Linked DNA regions of Homo sapiens: regions 1, 2, 3, 4, 5 and 7 are each linked to region 6. The links are contacts of gene promoters, found by promoter capture Hi-C in blood cells and fetal thymus (Javierre and others, 2016). All regions are on one chromosome and are shown on one strand. Each heading gives the region's core, a stretch centred on a gene start or on the middle of the fragment in contact. The rest is flanking DNA. Distances are from core to core; before and after follow the strand shown. Region 1 has its middle 60 kb from the start of EMB. Region 2 has its middle 120 kb from the start of LINC02106. Region 3 has its middle 83 kb from the start of LINC02106. Region 4 has its middle 100 kb from the start of LINC02106. Region 5 has its middle 30 kb from the start of EMB. Region 6 holds the start of PARP8 (poly(ADP-ribose) polymerase family member 8). Region 7 has its middle 11 kb from the start of EMB.

Region 1 (2,958 bases), core at 15-2,514, 170 kb before region 6:
ATTAAACTAAAGAGCTTCTTCACAAAAAAGAAACTACCATCAGAGTGAACAGGCAGCCTACAGAATGGGAGAAAATTTTTGCTATCTACTCATCTGACAAAGGGCTAATATCCAGAATCTTCAATGAACTCAAACAAATTTACAAGAAAAAAACAAACCCATAAAAAAGTGGGCGAAGGATATGAACAGACACTACTCAAAAGAAGACATTTATTGCCACCAAAAGACACATGAAAAAATGTTCATCATCACTGGCCATCAGAGAAATGCAAATCAAGACCACAATGAGATACCATCTCACATCAGTTAGAATGGTGATCGTTAAAAATCAGGAAACAACAGGTGCTGGAGAGGATGTGGAGAAATAGGAACACGTTTACACTGTTGGTGGGACTGTAAACTAGTTCAACCTTTGTGGAAGTCAGTGTGGCGATTCCTCAGGGATCTAGAACTAGAAATACCATTTGACCCAGCCATCCCATTACTGGGTATATACCCAAAGGATTATAAATCATGCTGCCATAAAGACACATGCACACGTATGTTTATTGCGGCACTATTCACAATAGCAAAGACTTGGAACCAACCCAAATGTCCATCAATGATAGACTGGATTAAGAAAATGTGGCCCATATACACCATGGAATACTATGCAGCCATAAAAAATGATGAGTTCATGTCCTTTGTAGGGACATGGATGAAGCTGGAAACCATCATTCTCAGCAAACTATCGCAAGGACAAAAAACCACACACCACATGTTCTCACTCATAGGTGGGAATTGAACAATGAGAACACATGGACACAGGAAGGGGAACATCACACACCGGGGCTGTTGTGGGGTGGGGGGAAGGGGGAGGGATAGCAGTAGGAGATATACCTAATTTTAAATGACGAGTTAATGGGTGCAGCTCACCAACATGGCACATGTATACATATGTAACTAACCTGCACGTTGTGCACATGTACCCTAAAACTTAAAATATAATTTAAAAAAGAAAAAAAATTTAAATTAACTACTAAAGACTTACTTTGTATTTTTTATATAAAAATACATCCAAATGCAAATTCTATTTTTTTTCTTGCCCTGTAGACAACATTCTGGAACATCCCCTGAAATACATACAAATCACTTTGGAAGCCACTGATTTAGAGAATGGAATAACGTTATTTGAAAGTGACAAATGATGACTAATAGTTCACATGTGTTGATTCCCAAGAGATGCATTCTTTCATCCAGCATTTATTAATATAGATTATTTGGAACATTAATATTTAAAAGATTATAATGCATAAGTAATAAACATGCATTGAATTTCTATATTTATTAGATATTATTCAAAAGATTTCAAAGAAAGATATTAAAGTTACTCATGTATAGAGTTAAATATGTCGCTGGACGATTCATATCATATATTTGAGAGTGAGCACTAAAACACAGAGACATTTTGGGTATACACACTGGCACACATACACAAACATATGCATACATACATCCATTTACTTATTCAACTTTTTCTCTAAAACTGAAAATGAATACTTTTGGAAGGCTAATTTAAATTTTTCTCAGGTTGGCAGAACTAAAATTTGTCTTTTGCTTATGATTACTATATATGCTATCTATAAGTTTTTTGCAGAATCTTTATTTTTAGTAAATAAAACATTTCTTTAAAGAATGTTTTAATTTCAGTAAGAATGAAACAATAAAACTTTAGAAAACGTAAAAAATGTGATATTAAAAGTTAAACATTTTTACTTTAAAGTATTACCAGAAGTAGCTCCATAAATATATAGCAAAAAAATTCTTAATTAGCCCTTATCTCATCTTAGAAGCTAAAGTATTTTGCAACTTCTAGAGTAATTTCAAATAACTGATTTTACCCATTGAAGGCCTTACACTACTTATGTTTCCTATTTCAACAGTCATTTATCTTTGAAGTGGCATAGTTTGAAATGAGATATTACTCCTTGAGGAAATTCTAGACTTCTGCCTTTCAGTTTCACTTCTCTAAATAACTCAAGTTTGTAGATGGGAAGATAGGCAACATCTTTTATATACAAAGGAAGAGAAAGAGAAAAGCAGAAGAGAAGATGGACTCTTGATAATCTGTTACTAAATAAGCTCTTTAGTTGAATTTGCTTTATTCCATAATTTACACTATTCTTTTCACTTTCTACACAATTTCATGAGCATTAGTACCTGACTGGATTAGCCTCTCTGCACTCACAATTATTGTTTACTTGAAAGAAACAGCCACGTTTTTCTCTGTAGTTTAAATTTCCCAAGGTTGCAAATACAGCCTGGCTCTTACACTGTGGAAGTGTGTGTGTGTGTGTGTGTGCTCAAGCGTGTGTGTGTGCTCAAGCATGTGTGTGTCATATATGCAATTACTGATTATTCCCTATTAGGTAGGCTCTGCACTTTATATATCTAATACTAAATTTAAGGGAAGTAAATGCAAAACTATTTTATCAAAATTACAATATTTAACTTTCAATATTACATATATCCATCAAATAGCTATACTGCTACATTCTGCATTGTATATAAATGTATTTGGAATACAAAATGGTATTTTCCCTATATTCCCATCTAATGGGGAATTTCATCAGCATTATATTAAAATAATCACATACTACTGCACATCAGGTTTTAGGATTATTTGTAGTTATCTATTTTCTACCTTTTACTGGACTAAATTATAATTGGTCTCTAAAATGCTTTATTGTACTTTGTCTAGAGTATTTTCCTCAATCCCATTTTGTCTGCAGAAAAGAGTATTCAGAAAATTTCAAAGAACAGAACAGTAATGCCCTCATGGCCTGGAAAGCACATGAGATTGCCCTAAAATACATAAATTCATTTCAAGTCCTACACAAATGCACATACATATGTATATATATGTTCATATACATATAATTTCAAATTCATGTATATGACAAAATTTTCAGTTTAATT
Region 2 (2,712 bases), core at 76-2,575, 180 kb after region 6:
AGATCCAATTTATAATATAAATTGAGAATAATTTCCCTCTTGATTTTTTATTGGAGATCGATTAAGATTCTCCCATAGCATTTAGTATTCCGAGAAGGACTGACTGAAGACAAATGACTTGGCTATGCTGGCTCTACACTAAGAAGCCTGTGAGCACATATTCAGCCATGTGAAGGGAAAGAAGAGAGAAGGAGTATTCTGAATCACATGGAGACATGTTTGAGAACAAATCTCCCCTACACCTGTAAAACCAGGCTTACTAAATACTGAGATCTGTAAGAGAATGGTTGCAGTAGTGCAGTAAATCTCCTTTCTGTTTTAATGTGATTTATTATTTCCAAGATCTATCGTGTGTGTGTGTGTGTGTGTGTGTGTGTGTGTGTGAGAGAGAGAGAGAGAGAGAGAGAGAGAGAGGCATTTTAGCCTGGGGAACACTTAGGACTCACCACCCAGAATGGTGGCATCCTATTCTTTACACTCAACTTGAAAGACACAACCCACTGTGAATGGCTCCAACTCTGACCTGTAGTCTGATGAGTCTGATGACTCTTAAATCTGCAGCTCTTCTTTGATCTTTCCCTTGAGCTTCAAAATTACATGATCAAATACCTCCAAACAAACATCTCTTCCTGAATGTTCCCGGGACACCTCAAACAAACTCTAACAAATGTCCCCACCCCCCACCATTCTACTCCTCTTCTTGCACTGTTATCAACGAACCAAAGAATGGCCACACCTTCCACCTGTTTGCCCAAGTGAGAAGAGAAATTATCCCCTATCCCCTTCCCTTTCACCCAGTCCCATCCTCCAATCAATAGCTAAGCCTTGTTAATTTTTCTTGTTGAGTGTCTTGATGATGTGTTCAACAACCTCGTTCTCTCCTGTGACTTCCTTTGCTAACATTCATGTAGGTTATAGCAGTATCCTTGACTTAATCCAGTACCCTTTACCGGGAACAAATTCAGCTAGCACATAGTACACTTACGATTGGTAAAATACTGAATGCCTCTGTATGTTAGTAAATAGACATCCAGCCCCATATTGCCCAGATGCAGCAACAAAAATGTTAGCTTAACACACAGAGGACGGACCTTCCTCCTGTACTTTGCCCCCTGCTAAATAGGCTATGACTGGCTCTACCTCCTTCCTGACCCTTTGCCCTCTCTTAATGCTGAAGCTAAAGTGATCTTACTGAAATGAAAATCCAATTTTGTAATTCCTTTGTTTAAAATCCCTTCAATATCTCCCAGTTTCTCACTCAGTAAAAATTTCTCATCAAACCTTTCACACATGACCCTTCATGGTCAAGCCCCTGCTTCCCTCTCATCCCTCTCCAGCCTCATTTTCCACCACCACCTTACACTCAGCATTGCAACCCCACTGAATTCTTGGCAGTTCCAAGAACAGCCCATTGCTTCCCACCTCTCACTTGCTTTTTCTTTCTGCCCCAGTCACCATTTCCAATTTATACTTCTTTTGACTCTCAACTTATTCCCAGTCTAAACCAAATGGTCCTTCTAGATCTTTTCCAAGTATCTGGCCATAGTTCATCTATTTCACTTAGCACACAGTGTTGAAAATGTTTATTGATTTGCCTGCTTTTTCCCCCCAACCCGGCTACCCTTCCTCCATACCACCATGCACAGATTATTTCCAGTACCGACTAAATGTTTGGGACTTAAGTGGGTGTACACATACACAATATTACAAATGTCTATCTGAGAAAAACAGTCTTCAAATAAAGTGGCATTAAAGCTGAAAATCTTAGATATGTCTTCTATTGGTACATACTAGATTCATACATCTAAATAAATACCCATGGTGGGGACATGTCAAGCCAAGGCTATCACTGTTCTGATCACCATCATCACTATCATCCTGGGCATCATTTCCAGCTCTATCACCTGCAGGAAAATGTAGGAACCTCATAATGTTGGCAACATCTACACTCTCTCTTACTCTTGAAGTATATATTTGCATTTTAACTTTAGAGCAAGCAATACCTGGATTGGAAGGTCGCTTTGAGGGCCCAGAATGAAACATAAAACTAGATACTTACAAATTTATAACTTAATGTCAGTAATTTGCATAACCAAAGGATCATTGCTTTGCTAAATAATTACCTTAAATAATGAGCTTCCCTAACATACTTGAGTTCATTTACAGGTCATTAACTACTTGACATACAAGAAAGAGAGCTACTTTAAGCTATAGTACTAATATTCATTACTAGTAATAATAAATCAGTGATGGAATTAAGCACATCTGTAACTATAAGTCAATGGGAAAATACAGTTTCTTCCAAGGGAATTGCATTCTTCTAACATAGTATAAATTGTAACTAACTTGAATTTTATTACACATTTTTCTCTGTCAACCTCTAACTTAATTTTTGCTGCCCTGAAATTGGGAACATTTCTATTCTTTATGTGTTTCCTGGTTAACTTCTGGGATACATATTTCTTAATAGTTGTAGGCTTACAGCATAGTCAATTTTCTAGTTCTAATAACAGCAGCTCAGGAGTGGAATAGTTTTCTGTAGTGTATTATTTGGATTCTTTTTCTTTGAGTTGCTGCCTGTTGCAAATCTACCCATAATTCAAGGTCAAGTTCATGTACCCCTGAGTACATGAATACTTGTACTTTTCATCTAGCCATAAAAGATCTCTCTCTGCTCCAAATACCTGAAACATTTTGTAGCTCTCCTGGAGC
Region 3 (2,700 bases), core at 106-2,605, 220 kb after region 6:
GGGATTATAGGCATGAGCACACTGCAACTGACCAGAGCTGACTTTTGAAGTCAGGACTCAGTCCTAGTACAGTCTTTGCAAATCTTACTGTTTAGATGATGTCTTAAACTCATTTTTCTAGAAGTGCTACTAAAATACATATTACTTGTGGCAAAATGTTGGATACTAACAATATTACTACTCCTTCAGGTCCTGGTGGGGGATGAAAGGATTTGGTGAAATCCTACATTCACCAAATACCTAGTGAGCATTAATTATGTATCAGCACCATGCTGAGATTAGGTGGTAACAGAAAAGATGCTGTTCCTGTCCCAAGGATCTTACATCTGTGTAGGAGAGAGGGATATTAAAAACAAACAAAAAACCCAACTACCAAATAACTGTTATGTCACAACAATTTTGCTAAGTGTCATGGAGGAAAACTATAGTGTATCAGAGGGTATATTAAGTGGAATCTAATCTGAATTTGGCAGTAAAATGTGTCCTCTATGGAAGTGGCATGACCTCAGACTGAAAAGGTGAGGAAGAATTAGCCAGGTAGAAATGAGATGAGACCATTGCCCAATGAGAAAAGAGCCCCTGTAGGGTACTGGGGTGGGAAGGAGCATGGGGACTGGGGTAACAGAAAGAAGCTGTCTGGACAGAACAGGGTGATCTACAAAGGGAGTAATGGGGATGAGGCTGCACAGACTAGCAGCCAGTGGCTGGATCATGGAGGTCTTTTAGGCCATGACATAATTTTGATTTTAATCCTAAAAGTGAGGTGACACACATGCCTAATTTTAACGGATGCTATAATCATACTGAGGTTTTTTTAAAAAGATAAATCCCAAGAAGAAATGTTTTGGGGTGATGTAAAAAGTCAACTAGATGCATTCTTTAACAAAAGAGGGATTCATAAGAGAGAAAGTTGGGGCAATATGAATATCTGACTTCCCCCAATAAACATGTCTACCAGAGCTGGCCTTTACAGTGGCCCACTCTCAGGTTCATTCCTGCTGTAAAGTTCCCAAGCAAATTCCCGCTGTAAAGTTCCAAGTTCCTGCTGTAAACTTCCTGCTGTAAACTTCCCAAGGTAAGGAAGACTCCTGCTGAGGCAGCAGACTGCTGCAGTTTACCCAGCCAGACTCTCTCTGACTCTCATGGAGAGAAGAGTGTGACAAGGGGCAGGTAGAAAGAATGATTGTGACTTGGTCCTCTCCCCTTCATGAAGCTGGACAAGCAGCAGTTACCCTCTTGCCCACTAGTAAAGAAATAGAACTGATTATTCTATAGATGGTATCTTTTTTTTTTCCTCAGTATCACACTAATCAACTCCCTGTGGCTGTGATGATGAGAGATGCTAAATTGCTGAAACGGCAGGCTTTCAGAGGAGATAAAATTGAGCACCTGCTCTTAGGTCCATAAATAACTGAGGGTTATTTTCCCTGGGGACTCTGATGCTGGTCCTAACATTCCCACCAAATGTTAATGTAGTCATTACACTGTGTCTGATTGAATTATCATTGTAATTTCAGGAGAAAACTTTGGTTTGGCCAGAGCAAAAAATATACTTTAAGAAGCACTAGTTTATACCTGAATTAGGTTTTGTGGCTGAACATCTGTGAATTCACAAAATCCAGAAAAAAAAATCTGGCTTTAGTTGTTCACCGTTTTTTGTACTCAAATATGCCTAACCTAAAATCTGCTTTGTTGTTGTCAAACGAGCATGGGTCCATAATTATTATCAATTTTATCTTATTCATAATAAAATAAGCATTATTGAAAAATAAGCATTATTGAAAAATAAGCATGTCTAAAACTATCCTAACAGTCAATCCTCTTCCACCTGATAGCTTTTTAAGAATTGACCTTGCCCATCTACTTTTCTAGTGAAATAATTGCATCATCACTTCTTTGCTAGGTAACATAGGACATATTTGGCGATTCTGTCTGCACATGGAAGGACTTTCTCTTCTATAGCTATGAAGTATTCTCTCTTCTGGTGGCCTTTGACGTAAGTATTATAAATCTACCAATTATCAGAAGTGTGTAATGTTGCCCAGTTTCCAAATCTTCCTTAAATGCTTGTCCACAGAAATATTTGAACAATTGAATAACACTCTACTTTTCATGAAGACATTCCAGAATCATAAAGACAAGCCCTAGGCTCTTTGATATTATTCTTTACTTGAAAGTGACCTTACTGTAATAGGCTGATGCCTAGCACCTAGCAGTTATTATCTAGAGTTCCTAAGAGCTTTTCCCAATATCTTTCTTTCATCCTTCATTTCCGCTTCGCTTGAGATTTCCCAGCCTCACTATCACTCTCACCACCTCTCATCTGCCATGTGGAAAAAATACTTCATTGGCGTTCCTACTTCCCTGCTCAATCACATGCAAAGTTCACCATGAATCATAGTTGTTAATGGTTCCCCTCTGCCTTTTGTACTTGTTTCAAATTCTGCAACTCAGCCTTCAAAGCCCCTAATTAACTGGCTCCCATTGAACCATCTTCCACAGTGCCTCAAAAGAACTCTTATTCTTTCATCAGTCTGATTTTCCCATTGCATCTGCCCCTCACACTCCCAACACATACATATAACTCATATTCATTCCAACTGCATGAATTAATGAATAATATGTCCCTCCATGCAATGTTCTCTTTCCCTTAGTTTCACTACTTCAAATAAAAACTCACTGCATATATTTAATGTGTAT
Region 4 (2,700 bases), core at 18-2,517, 200 kb after region 6:
TTTCCTCGACTCAATAAAATATTTAGACAAGATGTTCTCTCCATTTGACAACTTAAAAAACTGAGGCCTACAGATGTGGAACAACCCATGTCGATTCACTAGCGATAAAGAGACAGCCATAATGCAAGGATTTTGACTCATCACCTGGGTTCCTTGTTTTACATTCAGGAGAGTGGATTTCTTTCCAGTTCTAGGAAGCGGTCTAGGAATATATTTTTACAAAAGGAAGTATTTCCTGGAGAAACAATTCTCTTAGGTAGACCATGTCTGTTTTCATTTCTGGCCCACTTTTCATCTTCTTCCCCAGGAATCTAGCTCTCTCCTCCCTCTCTTTTCTTGTATAAGCATTTTATATATTTCATGTGAAATAAGTTTCAAGTAAGCTATAATTACCATTTTCATGAGAGAAAGTCTATCCATTTTCACTTCCATTTTATAGTTTTGATTATACTTTGAAAAGCTCTAGCATTTTCAAATATTTATAGTTTTAAAATATAAAGAAAAATGCATGATCCTACTGTCATAGGTTTACCACGGAAGGAGGCAAAACAGGGACATTCTATGCTGATTTCAATTCCAGGTAAATTATTTTTTGAATTCAATTTCTCTGGAATTAGGAAAGCTACCATTTAAATGCCTAGCTTTTGAGACCCTTTTAAAACCCGTCACGATTTTGTTAAAAACAAGATCATAAGGTTTAAAAATATTCAATGAAAAATGATTTACAAAGATTTTAAGAGATTTTTCTCATCAGTCACAGTGATGCCTCTTTCAAGATGTGCTTTCTAATCCAGTTCTGTCCAAATTTATGACCTACTCTACAGTTTGATTTTCCTATCATTTAATGAGTGCTCAGTTTTTTCACTTGAATCATGAAAACAAGAAAACGTGAAAGATAAACAGCACTATGGAATTCAGAATCCACACTGTTTGCTGTTCCACAGAAACTAGAATGAGTTCGTCGTGTCCTGCATTTATTGGTGACCTTAATGAAATCACTTGATGAAAGTCATGCTACCGCAGTCAGTTATTTTGAGGGGTATTTTGGGAGTTTTTTGTTTGTTTCTTTGGACCAGTTCTATAGTGAACTAAATTAGTTAATTAATGTCAGCTCCTTCTTCTCTAATTTACATATAACCCATTTTTGTATGCTTATCTGGGAACAATTCATTATTGACTTAGCTTGGAACAGATATAATGTACTCATCTTAGTCATCAGAAATATGCCCTACTTGGAGAAATTTTCCATTTACTTTATTTCTCAAATCCACAGACCACTTTGAAAAGTCCTTATCTACAAACAACAGCGGGGAGCAGCTTCACACTCTAAGAATTCATCACAAGCCCCTGGAGAATTTGACATATCCTTATGCATCTAACTTCTCTGCCTGAAGTAAATTTCAGCATCAACCCTTACTTGGTGAAATGAAATTCACCCGACCATTTATTTGCATAGTTTGGAGATTATAACAACACTGATGGCTCTATTTTGAAAGGAAAAAATATGGTCTCAATTGCTGATCAGACACAAAACAAAACAAAACTACTTCAAATTTTGCAAATTCTTACAAGGGTCTAGATTTGGAATGGAAATGAATTACTGCTTCCCTTTTACAGCTTTATCTTGATTTCCCAGTTTTATTTTCTCTTTTCACTCTTCCTCTCCTTCACAGAATTCCTACCTTCCTTTGGCCAATCTGCTGCTATATGTCAGGCATCACCCTTTCTTTCCACATTGCTCCTCTTCTTCATTGTTCTAAGGAAATGCAATCTAGAGAATGAAAAGATGAGGTGTATCCAACTGAATATTCCATCAATTGAAAAGGTCACAAGAAAAATGTTTCTTGCTTTAGAGAAGTAGAGTTTTAAATAAGACTTTTGCTTTCCTATGTTTTTGGTGAAATCCTCACTAGGTAGCAACGATGGATGTTGTCCAGTGGGGTCTCATTTTTCTCTCCATATAAACACTGGGATGTTAAATCTGGGATGTAGCAGGAGTGGTGTTATCACAGGAACCTGGAAGAGCTTTTCCCTTTGTCCTAGTATGAAGTAACACTCTTCTGTATCCCAGAGGTCACCGTGTATTCAGTGCTACTGTTCTGATTTGTTTTGATTTATGTAATAATAATAATATTTTGGAGTGAAGTAACTCAAGTGGAAGCCATTGACAACACATCAGCTTATTGGCTTCTATATTTGGAAAGAATCATTCACTCTTAATCAGAGGAAGAAGCTAGATTGAAAGTAGATATCAGCTAAGTTTGGTGTTATATAAGTCAGGGCTTTACAGAGAAACAGAATCAATAAGGTGCATGTGTGTGTGTGTGTGTGTGTGTGTGTGTAGAGAGAGAGAGAGAGATTGATTTCTTTTAAGAAATTGGCTCACATGAATGTGAGGGCTGGCAAGTGCAAAACGTACAAGGCAGGCTGGCAGGCTGGAGATCTCAAGAAGAACTGATATTGTAGTCGTGAGTCCAAAGACAGACTGAGGCAGAAATCCTTCTCTCTTCAAAGGACCTCTTAAGGCCTTCAATTGATTGGAGGGCAATCTGCTTTACTCAAAGTCTACTGATGTAAATTTTAGTCACATCTAAAATATACCTTCACAGCAACATCTAGACTGGCATTTAACCAAACAAGTGGGCATCATAGCCTAGCCAAGTTGACATAAATATAAAATTAGCCGTCAAAAGTGGATTT
Region 5 (2,700 bases), core at 66-2,565, 200 kb before region 6:
TCCTGAAGAGTGTTTTCCAGCTTGGTTCCATTCTCCCCATCACGTTCAGGTACACCAATCAGACGAAGATTTGGTCTTTTCACATAGTCTTATATTTCTTGGAGGCTTTGTTCACTTCTTTTTACTCTTTTATCTCAGAACTTCTCTTCTCACTTCATTTCATTCATTTGATCTTCAATCACTGATACCCTTTCTTCCAGTTCATCGAATCAGCTACTGAAGCTTGTGCATTCATCACGTAGTTCTCTTGCCATGGTTTTCAGCTGCATCAGGTCGTTTAAGGACTTATCTACACTGGTTATTCTAATTCGCCATCCATCTAATCTTTTTTAATGTTTTTAACTTCTTTGCATTGGGTTCAAACTTCCTCCTTTAGCTCAGAGAAGTTTCATCATCTGAAGACTTCTTCTCTCATCTCATCAAAGTCATTCTCCATCCAGCTTTGTTCCATTACTGGAGAGGAGCTGCATTCCTTTGGAGGGGGAAATGTGCTCTGATTTTTAGAATTTTCAGCTTTTCTGCTCTGTTTTTTCCCCACCTTTGTGGTTTTATCTACCTTTGTTCTTTGATGATGGTGATGTACAGATGGGGTTTTGGTGTGGATGTCCTTTCTGTTTGTCAGTTTTCCTTCTAACAGTCAGAACACTCAGCTGCAGGTCTGTTGGAGTTTGCTGGATGTCCACTCCAGACCGTGTTTGCCTGGGTATCAGCAGTGGAGGCTGCAGAACAGAGAATATTGCTGAACTGCAAATGTTGCTGCCTGATCTTTCCTCTGGAAGCTTCATCTCAGAGGGGTACCTGGTTGTGTGAGGTGGCAGTCTGCCCCTACTAGGGGGTGCCTCCCAGTTAGGCTACTTGGGGGTCCGGGTGCCACTTGAGGAGGCAGTCTGTCTGTTCTCAGATCTCCAGCTGCATGCTGGGAGAACCACTACTCTCTTCAAAACTGTCAGATAGGGACCTTTACGTCTGCGGAAGTTTCTGCTGCCTTTTGTACAGCTATGCCCTGTCCTCAGAGGTGGATTCTACAGAGGCATGCAGGCCTCCTTGAGCTGTGGTGGGCTTTATTTACCTACTCAAGCCTCAGCAATGGCGGGTGCCCCTCCCCCAGCCTCACTGCCACCTTGCAGTTTGATCTCAGACTGCTGTGCTAGCAATGAGTGAGGCTCCATGGGAATGGGACCCTCCAAGCCAGGCGGGGGATATAATCTCCTGGTGTGCCACTTGCTAAGACCATTGGAAAAGTGCAGGGAGTGACCCAATTTTCCAGGTGCCGTCTGTCACCCCCTCCCTTGGCTAGGAAAGGGAATTCCCTGACCCCTTGCACTTCCCGGGTGAGGCAATGCCTCATGCTGCTTCAGCTCACACTTGATGGGCTGCACCCACTGTCCCGCCCCCACTGCCAATGAACTCCAGTGAGATGAACCCCTGTACCTCAGTTGGGAATGCAGAAATCACCTGTCTTCTGCATCACTCATGCTGGGGGCTAGATGTAGACTAGAGCTGTTCCTATTCTACCATCTTGGAACTGCCTCCCATATGTGCCCATTCCAATTTTCACAGCCCAACTCTCTCTCAGTAAATACATTTCCTTTCACATAAGAGAACTACAGAGTATTCAAATTCAACTCTGTATAATGCAAAAACTCCAAAGTTAAATCTTTTAGTTTGATTATTAGTTACTTTAAGTTTTGAAGCTGCAAATGACAAAATATTATTCAGCATTAGATGGAAACTTTTGTTTTTCTAACACTGACTTTAGCCAAGATTTCAGAACTTTACATGATCATACTCTTCTTTAGGCTCTCCAGCACAGTTGGAAATAAGCAGACAATCTCACAGTCCTTGAATTCTCAAGCTTAGCAAGTTCCACCCTTAGCAGCACTTGAAATCTAAGGCCTTCCCATCAATGACACTTCATTCTAAATGATATTTGAATTAGTTGCCTGGTCATTACATGCTTTCAAATGCCATTAGCTGTATCATCCTGGCCTTTCTCTTTGATGAAGAAGTTCCACTATGCCCCTAGAATAATCCCACATTTAATTTTGTGGATGTCCTTCTTCTTTCACTACCTACATACTACCATGTCACTTGTGACTGTTAATAGCAAAGAAGACAATCCATTCTGGCAAGTTTAGCCAGACAAGAAAACAAATCATCATATGGGCTAGAGAAGAAAATAATTCTACATAGCCAAGATCAACATTGTAAAACTACATTTAAAAAAACAAACAAACAAAAAACTGACCTAAAGAGTATATTACCACTGTAGCCATTGCGTCCACCAAGCATAAGATGCCAGGAATCCAAAAATATTAAAATTATCGACCAGGTGCATTGTCTCATGCCTGTAATCCCAGCACGTTGGGAGGCTGAGGTGGGAGGATCATGAGGTCAAGAGATCAATACCATCCTGGCCAACATGGTGAAACCCCATCTCTACTAAAAATACAAAAATTAGCTGGGCGTGGTAGCACATGACTGTAGTCCCAGCTACTCGGGAGGCTGAGGCAGGAGAATTGCTTGAACCTGGGAGGCCAAAAAAAGAAAAAAATAAAAATAAAAATAAAAATAAATTATCCTACAGAAAGCACCAAGCCTTTTTGTATCAGGAAGTGAACCTTGAAATCACTGCAACTCACAAAAATCAGAGGCCTTTATTATCACCTATATTAGCAAAACTGGAAAATCCTCAGAGCC
Region 6 (2,733 bases), core at 116-2,615:
CCTAAACAGGAAGCATTTCAGGAGAGGACTGAGCAGGAGATATAGACTGTTGTGACTGTGGCTTTACTACATCAAAGGCTGCAGTGGATCTCAATAATGCAGAATGTTTCCTTTTGTAACTCATAGTGAATATGACTGGACAAGGAAATTATTTTGTAATTTGTTTCCTGAAAGATAAAGGAGTTAGAACATAGGATCTTTCATTGATTCTACAGAATCTTAAGACTCCTTCAGGGATGGCAGTCATTCCTACCGTGCTGAACATCATGTTGTCACGGTCAGAATCAGAACTAAATTGATTAAGGGTCTGAAACAGTTTGGCAACTCTTGGGCACTTATGCTGATAAGAAAAGTGATGAGACAGGGTAATGAAAAGAGGCTGCAAGAAATGACCATTCGTGCATTCAGCCAACATTTAGGCCACCCTCCTGTATTCCAGGCACTGTACATGGCACTGAGTATGCAAAGCAAAAGGAGTCATGGTCTACTGGCGGGAGCCTTCTCAGTGGAGAAAAGATCAACAAGAAAAGTGCCTGCTGGAGACCTCTCCTAGGGCATAAACCAATATAGAGGTGGGGCAGCTACGTCAGCCTGGGGTGTCCTTAGGCAGAACAGAAAGTGAGAATCAGAGCAGTATCTCATTTCTGAACACCTGGATTGTAGCTTTCCCTTGACTGTCAAAGGAGGTGGTTTTAAAAATCAAGCCAAACAGGTTTCCATCTTTTAGGAAGACCCTGGAACGTGCCAGTTGATTCTGACCATTTCTCATGAACAGAAACACCTAGGAAGGGAGAACTGGTGAGTTTCAAGAGGAGGAAGTCCCTCAAAAGGGGCTGTGTTTCGTAAACGGCGCCCCAAAAGGGCTGAACTACTTCGATCTGGAGGAAAAAGACTCAGGCACTGAGGGAAGGGGAGGGTGCACGTCTGGAGTAATTTTAAGGCCTTTTCCGTGTTATGTGATGTGGCAATAAGGAAAGATTTGTTCGTTTTATTATTTTTTTAATTTTTAAAGATTTTCTTTTCCCCCCTTTTCCCCCTCCCAGCCACTCCGGTTTGGGTTTGCCACAAGACTATAATTCCTTTAGAAAGTGGAGTCGAATTCATAAAAGTGATGGGGGGAGGGGCGCGGAGAGGGAAGGCTGGGAGCCCCAGGGAGTCTTCACGACCGCTCAGCTCCCGGCGCGAGTGGAGGTCGGTGTGGGGAGAAGCGGCTCCCGCCCGGGATGGCTAATACTCTGCGAGCCCCGGCAGCCCGCGGCCGGCGGGGTGACTAGGCGGCGGGCGCGGAGGGTCTGCGGCGGGCGGGCGGCGCTGCAGCAGCCTGGGCACGGCTGCCGCCGCCCGCGGGCGCGAGTGTGCGCGGGTGTGGAAGGCCGGCGTGCGAGCCGTGAGGGGTGTGCGCGCGTGAGCCGGAGCGGGGCTCGCCCCTCGCCGGCGCCCGCCGCCCAGCCGGTGATTGCTCTCTGGCTGTCCCCGGCACCTCGGCCCCCACGGCCGTTGGTCCGGGCGGGTGAGGGAGAAAGTGAGACTTGGTGTCATCACCATCCATTGTCAGAAGGGGAGGAAATTGGAATCCAGCAGCGGCGAGCAGCAGCTGGGCGGTCACATCTGGGAATGCAAAGCCGACCTCCCCCTCCTCCTCCTCCTCCCCCTCCTCCTCCTCCTCTTCTCTCACCCAGGATCACTTCCGAAACCACTTCGCCTTCAGCCCCTGCCTCGGCCAGAGGTTTCATTTTTAACTGAATATTTACGAAAGCTGGAAGCGTGCGAGGGGGGTGGGGTGGGGTGGAAATAGCGGCTGCTTCTTTTCCAGGGATTTATTTAATGGGGATGTGTTCAAGGCAAGAGCGAATTCAGAAGGATATCGACGTCGTGATCCAGAAGTCCAGAGCTGAGAAGGACTGCCTGTTTGCAGGTGAGTTCTTGCTTTTCCAGAACCTCGGACCCAGCGCCCCCTTCCCAGTTTTCTGACCGCGACGTCTGTGGCTGGGGGTGGGGTGGAGGGTTGCACGTCCCCATTCTGGGGTTCATTTGGCAACAGCTGCTGCAACGAGCGCGGGAGCCAAAAGGGGGAGGGGGCGCCAGCCTCTCCCCTTCCCCTCCCCCACCGCCAAGTCTGAGGCAGCCACCAGCTTTGAGGGCAGAGCCCGCGTGGCCGGAGCGGGGGTCTAGGCGAAGGGGCAGTGCGTGGTATTTCCAGCCCCGCGTAGTGCCCGAAGCCTCCAAGCACGCTTCCTGGGTTCCAGCAGCGGCGGCAGAGCGGGGTTGGTTTGCGCAATGGGCTGAGCGGCGGCGGCCGGGAATGGAGCCTGCTGCGCTGCGCTGCGCTTGTAAGCTGCGCCCGGCGCCGAGGACCCCCGGGGGGCAGCGCTCGGCCCATCTCCGGCCCCTTCGGCTCCCTCTAGTCCCCTCCGACTGGCAAAGAGAAGGGATTCCTCGGATTCCCAAGGCACCCAGCGCCCCTGCCTGGGGGTCGCCTTTCGTCCATTTTGCTCCCCCGGGATTTTGCTTTCGCTACCGCGAGCCCGGCTGAGGCTGCTTCCGGCCTCCCCTATCGGGAAATTCCCGCTGTTGCCATGGCACCCGGCACTTGTTGCGGGGGGCGGCCTCCCGCTGCACCCAGTCGGGGGCGCGCCGCATCCCCTCGGACGCGGCGCAGAGGGACCTCGCCGCCCTCTAGCCCTTGCCTTCTGCCCGGCCAGGCCTCCCCTGACACCACCGAATGTGGGGCTC
Region 7 (2,907 bases), core at 236-2,735, 210 kb before region 6:
GCGCTTGCCCTGGGCACCCTCAGTCCTGTTGTTGGATCATCTGGTTGGGGATTTCTGACCCAGAGAACCTTTGTCCTCTGGGACAATGAGCCTTCCAGTGATAGCCTTGGCATAATGGACATGGGTGAGGGGGCGGCTTGTTTCTCATTGGACAATCTTTTTTAAAGTGTCCTTGCAAACCACACTGATAACAAGCCCTAACAGGTGATTGGCCTGCTCCATTTTCTGTCCTGTCTGAACCACCAAGGTTTGTCTGAGGGCCATGACTAAGGCTGTGGCCTTTCTCTGATCTCACTTTTCCTTTTCAGCCTGTTCCTCTTGGTCCCTATTATAGAACACTAAGGTTGCCAGGTTTAATAATGCCTCCAGATTTTGTTCAGGGCTCAGAGCTCGCTTTTGGAGCTTTCTCCTGATATCTGCGGCTGATTGGGTAATAAACTTATCTTTTAGGGTCAATTGACCCTCGAGGGAGTCAGGTGACAGGGGAGTATATTTTCTTAGGGTCTCCTGTAGCCACTCAAGGAAAGCAGGATTTTCTTCCTTTCCCTGAGTTATGGTGGACTTCATTGAATAATTCATGGGCTTTTTTCTAATTCTCCTTAGTCCTTCTAGAACACAGATCAACAGATGTTTGTGACTCCAGTCCCAATGATGTGAGTCTAGGTCCCAGTGGGGATCCATACTGGGGATGGCTTGCTGACTGGTAGGGAATTTGTCCCTTTCTTCGTCTGTCACTCTATCATTTACTTGACTAAGATACCAGGTATCTTCAAACTCTCAGGCTGCAGCTAAAGCCGCATTCTTTTCATTAAAGGCCAGGGTTTGATCTAATAGCATGACATCTCTCCAGGTGGGATTGAATGTTTGCCCTAGACCCTGTAGGACATCTATATACCTATCAGGATCATCTGAAAACTTCCCCAGGTCTGCCTTGATCTGCTTTAAATCAGAGAGGGAGAAGAGGACATGTACCCAGGTTGGGCCAAATTCCCCACTCCCTACAGCTTAAAGAGGACATAACTGATAGCCTGGGGGTTTTTGTGGTCACTTGGAGATTTCTTTCCTTGTTTCCTTCTGGGCAGGGATATTAGAGGAGGCTTATCATTAATAGGAAGGGGAGCTATAGGGAAGCTAGGATATGGGGGTAAGCTGACAGGTCCTCTTGTGGGATATAAATTAGAAGATTTGCATAGTTGTGGATTCTCCTTCAATGAAAAGAAAGCTTGGATATAAGATATTTCACTCCATTTGCCTTCCCTTTTACAGAAAAGGTCAAGCTGCAGGATAGTATTGTAATTTGTACTTCCCTCAGGTGGCCATTTTTCCCCATCAGAGAGATGATATTGGGGCCAGGCCATATTGCCAAAAAAAATGAGCCACCTCTTTTTCAGGGTTTGCTGGTCAAATTGGTCCCAATGGCTTAGGATGCATTGCAAGGGTGGGCCTGTTGGTGTCTGAGTGTTTCCCATCACTTGGTGAAAGTCCCATCTGGGTCGGCAAGGTGTGTCCTGAGTTTATTCCTTCTAGTGGGTTCTTGGTCTCGCTGACTTCAAGAATGAAGCCGCGGACCTCACAGTGAGTGTCACAGCTCTTAAAGGTGGTGTATCCAGAGTTATTCCTTCTGGTGGGTTCGTGTTCATGCTGACTTCAGGAATGAAGCCACAGACCCTTACAGTGAGTGTTACAGCTCATACAGGTAGTGCGGACACAGTGAGCAGCAGCAAGATTTATTATGAAGAGCAAAAGAACAAAGCTTGCACAGCATGGAAGGGAACTTGAGTGGGTTGCCACTGCTGGCTCGGGTGGCCAGCTTTTATTCCCTTATTTGGCCCTACCCATATCCTGCTGATTGGTCCATTTTACAGAGTGCTGATTGATCCATTTTTAGAGAATACTGATTGGTGCATTTACAATCCTCTAGCTAGACAGAAAAGTTCTCCAAATCCCCACCCATCCCAGAAGCCCAGCTGGCTTCACCTCTCAAGTTTATTCATGAACGTAATTTTACCAACATGTTTTATACCATAATTTTGTTTTTGAACATTAACCATTTTTACTTTCAGAAGGAAGAATTCCCCTTAGCATTTCTTGTAAGATGAATCAGGTAGTGGTGAATTCTCTCAGGTTTTCTTTGCCTGGAAAACATTTTATATCATCTTCATAATAAGTTTGCTAGATACACTATTCTTGAATGACAGCTTTGTTTGTTTTTAACTTTTATTTCACGTTTGAGAATACATGTGAAACTCTTGTCATCAGAGTTTGTTGTACAGATTATTTCATCACTCAGGTATGAAGCCTAGTACCCAATAGTTATTTTTTCTGCCCCTTTCCCTCCTCCCACCCTCCACACTCCAATAGGCCCCAGAGTCTGTTGTTATCTTCTTTGTGTTCATGAGTTCTCATAATTTAGCTCCCACATATAAGTGAGAACAAGCAATATTTTGTTTTCTGTTCCTGTGTTAGTTTACTAAGGATAGTAGCTTCCAGCTCCATCCATCTTCCCACAAAAGACATGATCTCATTGTTTTTATGGCTGCATAGTATCCCATGGTATACATGTAGCACAATTTCTTTTTTTTTATTTATTATTATTATACTTTAAGTTTTAGGGTACATGTGCGCAATGTGCAGGTTAGTTACATATGTATACATGTGCCATGCTGGTGCACTGCACCCACTAACTGGTCATCTAGCATTAGGTATATCTCCCAGTGCTATCCCTCCCCATCCCCCCACCACACAACCATCCCCAGAGTGTGATGTTCCCCTTCCTGTGTCCATGTGTTCTCATTGTTCAATTCCCACCTATGAGTGAGAATATGCAGTGTTTGGTTTTTTGTTCTTGCAATAGGTTACTGAGAATGACGATTTCCAATTTCATCCATGTGCCTACAAAGGACATGA

Evidence for each region. The method cuts DNA at HindIII sites, captures the fragments that hold promoters and counts their contacts. A CHiCAGO score of 5 or more calls a contact.
Region 1: a fragment that was not itself captured here is called in contact with the fragment with the promoter of PARP8 in region 6 in 2 of 17 cell types (neutrophils and total CD4 T cells); the score reaches 6.3 in neutrophils.
Region 2: a contact is called between a fragment that was not itself captured here and the fragment with the promoter of PARP8 in region 6, in 2 of 17 cell types (neutrophils and monocytes). The highest score is 5.6, in neutrophils.
Region 3: a fragment that was not itself captured here is called in contact with the fragment with the promoter of PARP8 in region 6 in 1 of 17 cell types (M0 macrophages); the score reaches 5.0 in M0 macrophages.
Region 4: a fragment that was not itself captured here is called in contact with the fragment with the promoter of PARP8 in region 6 in 1 of 17 cell types (M0 macrophages); the score reaches 7.2 in M0 macrophages.
Region 5: a contact is called between a fragment that was not itself captured here and the fragment with the promoter of PARP8 in region 6, in 2 of 17 cell types (non-activated CD4 T cells and naive B cells). The highest score is 7.2, in non-activated CD4 T cells.
Region 7: a contact is called between a fragment that was not itself captured here and the fragment with the promoter of PARP8 in region 6, in 9 of 17 cell types (naive CD4 T cells, non-activated CD4 T cells, total B cells and 6 more). The highest score is 11.0, in naive CD4 T cells.

Annotation. Positions count from the first base shown.
Region 1 is chr5:50,499,733-50,502,690 of GRCh38, forward strand. No RefSeq gene overlaps it. Among named protein-coding and RNA genes, the nearest start is that of EMB, 60 kb to the left of the region's middle. The HindIII fragment of the contact is 5,250 bases long and covers 1-2,958 here.
Region 2 is chr5:50,848,651-50,851,362 of GRCh38, forward strand. No RefSeq gene overlaps it. Among named protein-coding and RNA genes, the nearest start is that of LINC02106, 120 kb to the right of the region's middle. The HindIII fragment of the contact is 5,806 bases long and covers 1-2,712 here.
Region 3 is chr5:50,885,775-50,888,474 of GRCh38, forward strand. No RefSeq gene overlaps it. Among named protein-coding and RNA genes, the nearest start is that of LINC02106, 83 kb to the right of the region's middle. The HindIII fragment of the contact is 3,553 bases long and covers 1-2,700 here.
Region 4 is chr5:50,868,294-50,870,993 of GRCh38, forward strand. No RefSeq gene overlaps it. Among named protein-coding and RNA genes, the nearest start is that of LINC02106, 100 kb to the right of the region's middle. The HindIII fragment of the contact is 4,885 bases long and covers 1-2,700 here.
Region 5 is chr5:50,469,865-50,472,564 of GRCh38, forward strand. No RefSeq gene overlaps it. Among named protein-coding and RNA genes, the nearest start is that of EMB, 30 kb to the left of the region's middle. The HindIII fragment of the contact is 1,076 bases long and covers 778-1,853 here.
Region 6 is chr5:50,665,272-50,668,004 of GRCh38, forward strand. PARP8 (poly(ADP-ribose) polymerase family member 8) reads left to right here and starts at 1,366. Exons shown (of 26, transcript NM_024615.4): 1 at 1,366-1,915. The coding sequence starts at 1,825. RefSeq lists silencers at 1,209-1,358, 1,409-1,468, 2,161-2,490 and enhancers at 1,641-2,553, 1,989-2,733. The HindIII fragment of the contact is 4,109 bases long and covers 1-2,733 here.
Region 7 is chr5:50,450,407-50,453,313 of GRCh38, forward strand. No RefSeq gene overlaps it. Among named protein-coding and RNA genes, the nearest start is that of EMB, 11 kb to the left of the region's middle. The HindIII fragment of the contact is 531 bases long and covers 1,221-1,751 here.